Linked DNA regions of Homo sapiens: all the other regions are linked to region 3. The links are contacts of gene promoters, found by promoter capture Hi-C in blood cells and fetal thymus (Javierre and others, 2016). All regions are on one chromosome and are shown on one strand. The core of a region is centred on a gene start or on the middle of the fragment in contact, and the rest is flanking DNA. Distances in the headings are between cores, read along the strand shown. Region 1 has its middle 11 kb from the start of SCGB1A1. Region 2 overlaps SLC3A2 (solute carrier family 3 member 2). Region 3 holds the start of UQCC3 (ubiquinol-cytochrome c reductase complex assembly factor 3).

The links. Contacts are between HindIII fragments. The CHiCAGO score rates a contact against its expected background, and 5 or more counts as called.
Region 1: a fragment that was not itself captured here is called in contact with the fragment with the promoter of UQCC3 in region 3 in 7 of 17 cell types (naive B cells, total B cells, total CD8 T cells and 4 more); the score reaches 11.6 in naive B cells.
Region 2: a fragment that was not itself captured here is called in contact with the fragment with the promoter of UQCC3 in region 3 in 3 of 17 cell types (naive CD4 T cells, naive B cells and naive CD8 T cells); the score reaches 5.2 in naive CD4 T cells.

The regions. Positions count from the first base shown.
Region 1 is chr11:62,428,502-62,431,839 of GRCh38, reverse strand. No RefSeq gene overlaps it. Among named protein-coding and RNA genes, the nearest start is that of SCGB1A1, 11 kb to the right of the region's middle. The HindIII fragment of the contact is 7,397 bases long and covers 1-3,338 here.
Region 2 is chr11:62,885,268-62,888,465 of GRCh38, reverse strand. SLC3A2 (solute carrier family 3 member 2) reads right to left here. Exons shown (of 9, transcript NM_001013251.3): 6 at 3,109-3,198; 7 at 2,858-3,001; 8 at 248-331; 9 at 1-135. Among named protein-coding and RNA genes, the nearest start is that of SLC3A2, 6.0 kb to the right of the region's middle. The HindIII fragment of the contact is 5,324 bases long and covers 1-3,198 here.
Region 3 is chr11:62,670,401-62,673,590 of GRCh38, reverse strand. UQCC3 (ubiquinol-cytochrome c reductase complex assembly factor 3) reads right to left here and starts at 1,918. Exons shown (of 2, transcript NM_001085372.3): 1 at 1,726-1,918; 2 at 1-1,638. The coding sequence starts at 1,845. The coding sequence ends at 1,477. It overlaps LBHD1 (LBH domain containing 1), which reads left to right and starts at 1,324. Exons shown (of 7, transcript NM_024099.5): 1 at 1,324-2,027. RefSeq lists a silencer at 1,115-1,244 and enhancers at 1,485-1,644, 1,011-1,752, 1,753-2,492, 2,493-3,190. The HindIII fragment of the contact is 2,853 bases long and covers 260-3,112 here.

The sequences.
Region 1 (3,338 bases), core at 157-2,656, 240 kb after region 3:
TTCCACTAGAGGGTCAAAAGTAGAATCCTGCTGCTCTGATCAAGTACTTGACGCAGATGTACATTCGAATGATTTATTTTCCTTTTGCTTTCTTGGGTTTTCTAATTTTTCTACAATGAGTGGCAAGATAACTAAAATGTGAATCATGCCTTCATAGGACTCACATTCTAGAGAAGGCAACAGTTAGAAGCAAACATGCTATAGTAAGATAAATACATGATTTATCCCACTGTAAATACATGCCCCAGATTAGGGGCGTGGAAGCTCAGCAGCAGAAAGAGCCCCTGAACCTCAGGGCACAAAGTGCTGGGTAGGGAGAACAGGGAGAAAGAGCCCACAGACTAAGTCGTGAAAGAATCTGAAGGGGGCCAGACTTAGCAAATGAAATACAGTATGCCCGTTAAGTGTGCATTTTAGATAAATAATGAAACAATTTTTAGTATAAGCATGTCCCAAGTGAGTCATGAAGGATGGAGTTTGGTTCTTCCAGGGACTTTGGGAAGGGAAAGCATTTCAGTTAGCGGGAACTGTTTCTGCAAAAGTGTGGAAGTGTGAATGGCATGGATTTGTTGCCTGTTTCAAATGTGAACGTCTGTGCCTCGACATGAATCGACAAGCCTTACTCAGAGGGCAGTTTTATTTCCGAGCATCATCCACTGCTGCACCCTCAAAGTGAAGGGTAGGTGGGAAGCAGCAGGATTTGAGGCCACAGTGGGAAGCAGGGCCACCATCTCCAGGAGCCTTTGATGATGGGTGAGGGGTTTGGACTTTATCCAACAGGGGACCAGGAAGAGGGAAGGATTTTAAGCAAAAGCATGAACTTCCTGTTTGATTTTTGGCAATCATGGGAAGGAAGTAAGACTAAAATCTTAGAGACTATTTAGGAGGCAGATTAACGGCCCCTCAAGGATCTCCACGTCCTAATCCCCAGACCCTGTGCATGTGTTAGGTTACCTGGCAAGAGAGAATTAGGGTTGCACATGGATGAAGGTTTCTCATCAGCTGACCGTGAGAGGGGAGGTTGTTTTGGAGTATCTGATGGGCCCAGTGTAATCACAGAGATCCTTATGAATGGAAGTGGGAGGCAGAAGAGGAGATCAGTGTCGGAGAGAGAATTGCAGAGGCTGCCCTGCTGACTTTGAAGATGGGGAAGGGGCCATGAGCCAAGTAATGCGGGTGGCCTTTAGAAAATGGAAAAAACAAGGAGACAGATTCTCCCCTGGAGACTCCAGAAAGAATGCAGCCTGCCAACACCTTGGTTTTTAGCCCAGTGAAATGCATTTCAGACATCTGGCCTCCAGAACGAGAAGATCATAAATTTGTGTGTTTTTAAGTTATTAAGTCTGTGGTAAGTTGTTACAGCAGCCATAGAAACTAATGTAGAGGCTGTTTGCAATGATCCAGGTCACAGATGGTGAAGGCTTGGAATTGGCAATAGGGTCAAGAGAAGGGGATAAGGGCTGGGCACGGTGGCTCACGCCTGTAATCCCAACACTTTGGGAGGCAGAGGCTGGCAGATCATTTGAGTCCAGGAGTTTGAGACCAGCCTGGCCAACATGGCGAAAACCCGTATCTATGAAAAAAAATACAAAAATTAGCTGGGCATGGTGGTGTGCGCCTGTCATCCCAGCTACTCAGGAGGCTGAGGGAGGAGGATTGCTTGAGCCTGGGAGGCGGAGGTTGCAGTGAGCAGTGATTGCAACCTTGCACTCCAGCCTGGGTGACAGAGTGAGACCCTATCTCAAAAATAAATAAATAAAAAAAAATAAAGGGATCAATTCCATGTAAGTTGAGATGGACTCAGAGACCGACTGGACGCCTAAGGTCAGGAGGTCAGGAGATCCCCCAGCCCAGCAACCCTTTCTCCTCTCCTGATGCCCCAAGGCCTGCTCCTCCTTCCACAGCTCCCAGGGAGCCTCTGATCAAGTCTCTATCCTGTCCCAGGGCTGATTAGTACCTACTTTTGTGACAGGGGCCTAACAGGGAATTCTTTTTCATTTTTATTTTTGAGATGGAGTCTCATTCTGTCACCCAGGCTGGAGTGCAGTGGTGTGATCTCGGCTTACTGCAACCTCGGCTCACTACAACTTCCGCCTCTGCAACCTCTGCCACTGCAACTTCTGCCTCCTGGGTTCAAGTGATTCTCTTGCCTCAGCTGTAGCGGGGACTACAGGCATGCGCCATCATGCCCGGGTAATTTTTGTATTACTAGTAGAGATGGGGTTTTGCCATGTTGGCCAGGCTGGTCTCGAACTCCTGACCTCAGGTGATCCGCCTGCCTCAGCCTCCCACAGTGGCTTGAGCCACTGCACCCAGCCCTAAGAGGGAACTCTAAAGGAAGCTCTGTAGGTATCTGCCTCGTGGTTACACACACAGGGTGGCTGTGAAACCGCCTTTGCAAAAATTACAACTGAGGAAATTATGACAGTGAAAGAGATCAGACCTAACCGACTCCATCTTCCTTCTAACCTTTAAGCTGTCCTTGTTCATTCCTGGGCATAGGCCTGAACTAACTTTGGGAAGGAATTCAGTTCATGTTTTGACTCTGAAACAAAATTGATAATAGCCATTTCCCTAAAAAAAACCCCATTCTTGCCTGTGGACCAGTCTGCCTTTGCAAGACTAACAAATTAGCTACAAGATTAGAAATTTAGTTTAGCGGTCATGCAGCCTCTGGCTCCAAGAGTCTGAGCCTCCCCAGATTGCTCCTGCAGATAACATCACTATTGTAAAACCTAAGATCAGTGCTTGAGATAGTTTGCAGACCCTGCATTCGATGGATCAGCTGACACAACCCAGACTGGTAATCTGGCTCAACCATTTCTGCCATCCTCCCCAGGAACAGAAGACAGCAAGAAAACCACACTTCCACCCCCTAGGATTCCATCTCCAGCCTGACCAATCAGCACTCCCTGCTTCCCAAGCCCTTACCCGCCAAATTATCTTTAAAAACCCCGATCCCCGAATGCTCAGGGAGACTGTTTGGAGTAATAATAAAACCCAGTCTCCCACACACCAGCTCTGTGTGAATTACTCCTTCTCCACTGCAATTCCCCTGTCTTGATAAATTGGCTCCGTCCAGGCAGCGAGCAAGGTGAACCCACCGGGCAGTTACAGCTATGGGCATATAACTGCAGGTATTTTCAGAGTTAACTAGACTCTTGTGATTAGCTGGGAATCCATTCACTTGATGGGGTAACAAATCTGAGTTCCAAACCCCCGGTTTATCAATTCCCAAGCTGGCAATCAATTCCCATGCTAGCTTAGCTAAATGTATTTTCAGATTTTTTTTTTTTTGGGGACAGAGTTTTGCTCTTGTTGCCCAGGCTGGAGTGCAA
Region 2 (3,198 bases), core at 1-2,500, 220 kb before region 3:
GCGGATATAGGAGAAGAGTCCAGGCCCAGCGGAGAACGCGTGGAAGTCCCCATGCAGTAGGGAGCGCTCCTTACTCCGCTGGTCACTCAGCCGCCGGAACAAGGAAAGGAGGGAGCCAGGGTCTTCACTCTGGCCCTAAGAATGATAAAAACATAGCAGAAGCGTGTGAGGGGCTCCCCTGGGTACAGACTTCTACAAGCCCAGCCCACCCTCCACCGGTCAGTTTCTACCCATCTAGAACTCTTACCTTCACAGTCATGTTGGCACTTACAGCCCCTGGGATGTCAGGGAAGCTGGACTCATCCCACAGCATGACTGGAGCCTCCATAGGCTGAAAAGCAGAGAAAATAGGACTTTAAAAAGGCCTGGGGTCAGGCATGGTGGCTCACATCTGTAATTCCAGCAGTCTGGGAGGTCAAGGCCAAGAGGATTGCTTGAGCCCAGGCATTTGAAACCAGCCTCAGCAACATAATGAGCCCTCATCTCTACTACAAAATTTTTAAAAATTAGCTGGGTGTAGTGTTACATCCCTATAGTCCCAGATACTGGGGAGGCTGAGGAGGGAGGATCACTTGAACCCAGGAGTTTGAGCTTGCAGTGAGCCATGACTCCACCACTGTACTCCAGCCTGGGCAACAGAGTGAGACCCTGTCTCAAAAAAAAAGCCCTGGGCCCACTGTCCCGTATCCCTCTTCCCATTCACATCCTCATCAATATATAACCTCCCCAACTCATGTCTGGCTAACTTTTTTTTTTTTTTTTTTTTGAGACGGAGTCTCGCTCTGTTCAGGCTGGAGTGCAATGGCACGATCTTGGCTTACTGCAATCTCTGCCTCCTGGGTTCAAGCGATTCTCCTGCCTCAGCCTCCCCAGTAGCTGACCATAGGTGTGCACCACCACACCCAGCTAATTTTTTTGTATTTTTAGTAAAGACGGGGTTTCACCATGTTGGCTAGGCTGGTCTCGAACTCTTGACCTCAGGTGATCCACCCACCTTGGCCTCCCAAAGTGCTGGGATTACAGGCATAAGCCACGACACCCGGCCTGGCTAACTTCTACTGGATGAGTGAGGCAGGCTCCCACCTCAGGGTCCTCACACATACACTGTTGCCCCTCAGCCAAGAGCTCCCAGATGGCTGCCAGCCAGCTCTCTCACTTCCCTCAGGTATCTGCTTGGTTATCTTACCAGGTCTCCTATGGCTACTCTCTATAAAACAAGCCCCATCATCCCCTAGTCTCTAGGCTCCTTACCCCGCCTTCTTTTGCATAGCACTGATCAGCAGCTGGCGTTTTATTTATGCATATCTAATTATCTAACCACCTCCAGCTCTCTTGTGCAATGCTGTATCCTCAGTGTAACAGACAGAAATTATTCTATAAACATCTGTGGAATAAATGAATAACTGGTTCTATAAACATCATGCTGATGGCCGGGTGCAGTGGCTCGCACCTGTAATCATAGCAGTTTGGGAGGCCAAGGTGGGAGGATCATTTGCACCCAGGAGTTTGAGAACAGCCTGGGCAACATAGTGAGACCACACCTCTACAAATTTTAAAAATTAGCTGTGGCCAGGCACAGTGGCTCACACCTGTAGTCCCAGCAATTTGGGAGATCAGGGCAGGCAGAGCGATTGAGCCCAGGAGTTGGAGACCAGCCTGGGCAACAACAGTGAAAGCCTGTCTCTACAAAAATTAGCCGGGCATGGTGGTGTGTGCCTGTATTCCCAGACCACCTGTATTCCCAGCTACTTGGGAAGCTGAGGCAGGAGTATCACTTGAACCCAAGAGGCAGAGGTTGCAGTGAGACATAATCGCACCACTGCAATCCAGCCAGATCAACAGAGCAAGAACCTGTCTCCAAAAAAAAAAAAGATCAGCTGGGCATGATGGCACGCACCTATCTATGGTACATATCCCAGCTACTCAGGAGGCTGAGGTGGGATGATCACTTCGGCCTGGGAGGCGGAGGCTGCAATGAACCAAGATCATGCCACTGCACTCCAGCCTGGGCGACATAGGGAAATGCTGTCTTAAAAACAAAAACAAAAAACAAACAAACAAACAAAAAAAAAAAGTCGGGGATCAACAGTAACCCTGTATCTAAAGCTAGTGAATGCCTTTGTAGTAGTATCCCTACCATGTATTTCTTTCTTTCTTTTCTTTTCTTTTTTTTTTTGGAGAAGGAGTCTCCCTCTGCCGCCCAGGCTAAAGTGCAGTGGCACAATCTCAGTTCACTGCAACCTCTGCCTCCAGGTTCAAGCGATTCTCTTGCCTCAGCCTCCCCAGTAGCTGGGACTACAGGCGTGCACCACCACACCTGGCTAATTTTTGTATTTTTAGTAGAGACTGGGTTTCACCCTGTTGGCTAGGCTGGTTTCGAACTCCTTACCTCCAGTGATCCACCCACCTTGGACTCCCAAAGTGCTAGGATTACAGGCATGAGCCACCGTGCCCAGCCACTGCCATGTACTTCTCCACTTATTTATCTGGCTCCCTCACTAAACTATGAGCTCCTGAGGGCACAGAGCCTAGCACAGTACCCACTGTCCAAAGAATAAAGGAATGAATAAATGAATGGTGGCTACCATAGCAAACATCTGCCAGGTACCAGGCATTACCATTAAAAACATGCCCTCATTTAATACTAACCACCCTTCAAGAAATGCAGTAACACAAGGGATGACCAAAATTCAGAAAGGTAAAATAATTTGCCCAAAGCCACATAGCCACTCAGCTACTGACTAAGAATCAAACGCGTTTTCACCCCAAGGCTCACGTCTATGTGCCGCCATCCCCAGAATCATCATTGTAAGATGGATAAACAACCTCCCTGTGACAGAAAGACAGCAAGCAGTACCTGTCCAGGAAGGGCAGCTGCATCCAGGCCAATCTCATCCCCGTAGCTGAAAACAGGGGTCCCTGGCAGGGTGAAGAGCATCAGCTGGTAGAGTCGGAGAAGTTGAGCCGGCAAGAAGGAAGTCAGGAGCCTTGCCTGAGACAACTACAGGGAGAGACACTCCAGTGAGCCCCATAACCCACCTCTGCCTCTGTCTCCCAACAACCCTTTCTTCTCCCATCTGCCCCCTTTCCCACCAGCATGGTACTCACACTCCAGCTGCACCAGCGATTGCCAGTGGCATTCAAATACTGTGTGACTAGGGATTTTGTATGCTCCCCAGTAGAACCAGAATCAGACAG
Region 3 (3,190 bases), core at 669-3,168:
AAAGAGGAGCAACTTGGTTGACTAGGCTGTGGGGCTTTGACCCCACTTATTTAATCCCCTCAGTGGCAGCTCCAATAAATCCTGACCAGATCCAGAGATTGGGGACCACTTTACATTTCTAAATTAATGTTTTACAATAATCCTCGTAGTTATGACCTTTCATAGAACAGGGCTGAGGTTTGTAACATGCTGGAGTTCAACCAGGATCTGTGACTCAAAGCACACTCCTTTTACTACTAGTAAGTCAGCCTCCTAAGCTTGTTTAACCAGAGGTTAAATAATGGCCACAGAAAGCATTGTGGCATATGTTAAGTGCTAGATGCCCCTCCAATCTCGCTCCAAGGACAGGAGTCCTGAGTGTCCACTATAGGCATCCATTACTTCAAGACTTCCCAGGATAGTTCAGATTTCAAGAATGTCCCACGGTTATCCCTGGAAGTACACTCCAACCTGACACCACATGACCTGTTTTGAAAATGTGGTTGGCCGGGCGCAGTGGCTCACGCCTCTAATCCCAGCACTTTGGGAGGCTGAGACGGGTGAACTGCCTGAGGTCAGGAGTTCGAGATCAGCCTGGCCACATGGTGAAACCCGCCTCTACTAAAACTACTAATATCAGCCGGGCGTGGTTGCGGACGCCTGTAATCCCAGCTACATGGGAGGCTGAGTAAGGAGAACAGCTTGAACCCAGGAGGCAGAGGTTGCAGTGAGCCAAGATTGCGCCACTGCACTCCTGCCTGGGTGACAAGAGCAAGACTCCATCTCAAAAAAAAGAAAAAATGTGGCCGCGGCAGGGCGAGGTGGTTCACGCCTGTAATCCCAGCCCTTTGGGAGGCCGAGGCGGGCGGATCACCTGGGTCTGGAGTTCGAGACCAGTCTAGCCAACATGGTGAACCCTGTCTCAACTAAAAACACAAAAGTTAGCTGGGCTTGGTGGCGCGCACTTGTGATCCCGGCTACTCGGGAAGCTGAGGCAGGAGAATTGCTGGAACCCAGGGGCGGAGGTTGCAGTGAGCCGAGATCGTGCCACTGCACTCCAGCCTGGGTGACATTGACTCCGTCTCAAAAAAAAAAAAAAAAAAAAAATGTGGTCAGATACCTATCGGGATCAGCCTCTTCTGGTGGGGTGGGACAGGCAGCAGCTCCAGGCCGCGCCCCCAGCACCGACCACGCGTCTCTAAGCATTGGTAGGTGTCGACTGCAGGGCTCATTCTGGGTGGAGGAACATGATTTTATTGGTTCTTTCAGTTCACCACATCCGACTCGCGTCTCGGCCCTGGCCCGCCTTGCGGACCTTAAAGCAGTCAGTCCAGGGTTTGGGGGAAACGTGCTCACCCGACGGCAGCTCACAGGACCCCGGAGAGTCCTGGCATGGTATCTCGGTCCGGACTCTCCGCTGGGCCCACGAAGGAGAAAGGCTGCCTCGGATTCCTGCGCCCAAGCCAAGGTCCGGCGCCCACGGAGGCAAGTCCGGTCTCACGGTGACCTCCCGCCGGCGCCGCCTTCGCCGCCAACCATCCAGTTCTTCCTCCAGGCCACGTTCTCCTGCGTGGTCGCTGCCTCCTGCAGAGTGGCCAGCAATAGCTGCTGGGTCCTGGCCGCCTCCTCCCTGCTCCTTGGGTCCTGCAGTGGCATCTCCTGAGGGCAGGAAGGGGAGTTCGCAGGAGCTCCAGTCCGGGGCTCTCCACCCGCCCACCCTTCCTCGGGACTACCAGTTGCTTCTACCTTTAGCATTTCCTGCTTCCGCCGCTCTCCCGGGGTCACGATAACGAGGAGCGCGTAGCCCACGCCAGCCCCTGCGCCCAGCATTGCGACTGAGATCAGCATTTTCCGCAAGGAATCCATGGCCGCCTGCACAGCCAGCGGAGCGCCCACGGGAGCTCCCCGCAGCCGCAAGCTGTTGCCGCGCGGTCTCACTACCCCTTGGCGCAGGCTAGAGCGCCCTATAGCAGAAACCATAGATAAGCGGCCGGCTAGAGAGGACCTGCTCGAGGAAACGTTTGGAATCCGGAGCGCTTGGATCTCAGGTTTAGCTGAGGGGGTTGAGGTGTCCAAGAAGTGCTGGCACCAAGGGCTGAGCGCGGGGACCCTGTGTCCTCAATTCCGGGGTGGGATTGCTAGGGGGAGAGTGCGTGTCTTCATGGTTGCCGTGGGTTTTATGATTGCCCATTTTTCTGTCTTCCGACGTTTCCCGATCAGTAGAGGCCCGAGCTGTGCTCTGTGGTTTCCTGCAGTCACCCGCGCGTTTTCAACACAGCGCATGGAGGGCATCTACACACATACACATCCCTCTCCATCCCCTCAACTCTGGAACAAACACTCAAAGTCAAGTATACTGGTTGGAGAAATGGGTAATAGTTACTTATCTTTAACATTTATTTTACAAACAACCTATTCCTTTTCTCGTCATGGTACACACTTGGTATTGTTTGGGTTTTTTTTTGGTTTTGTTGTTGTTGTTAGTGTGTGGGCGTGGTTTTGTTTGTTTTTGGAGACAAGGTCTCGCTCTGTCGCCCAGGGCTGGAGTGCAGTGGCGCGATCATGGCTCACTGAAGCCTCGACTTCCAGGGCCCAAGCGATCCTCCTGCCTCAACCTCCCGGATAGCTGGGATTACAGGCGTGCACCACCACGCCCGGCTGGTATTGCTTTTTGTTTTGCTTCGTTTTCTTTTTTGCTTTTTGAGACAGAGTCTCACTCTGTTGCCCAGCTGGAGTGCAGTGGCGTGATCTCGGCTCACTGCAAGCTCTGCCTCCCGGGTTCACGCCATTCTCCTGCCTCAGCCTCCCGAGTAGCTGGGACTACAGGCGCCCGCCACCACGGCCGGCTAATTTTTTGTATTTTTAGTAGAGAAAGAGTTTCACTATGTAGGTCAGGCTGGTCTCGAACTCCTGACCTCGTGATCCGCCCAATCCGCCCACCTCGGCCTCCCAAAGTGCTGGGATTACAGGTGTGAGCCACCGCGCCCGGCTGTTTTGCTTTGTTTTCAACCACTAAAAGGCTGGATTCGTGTAACATACTGAATTCTGCTTTACAGAAGAAAACACCTCTTAGCTGTGTGACTGATTATAGGCAAGTTCTTGTGCCCCGGTTTCTGCATCAGAAAATGAAGCTTATAACAACAGTACTTGTCTCACAGTTTTAGGATAATTAAATTAGTTATATGTAAAGCAATTAAAACAGCTCCTGCCA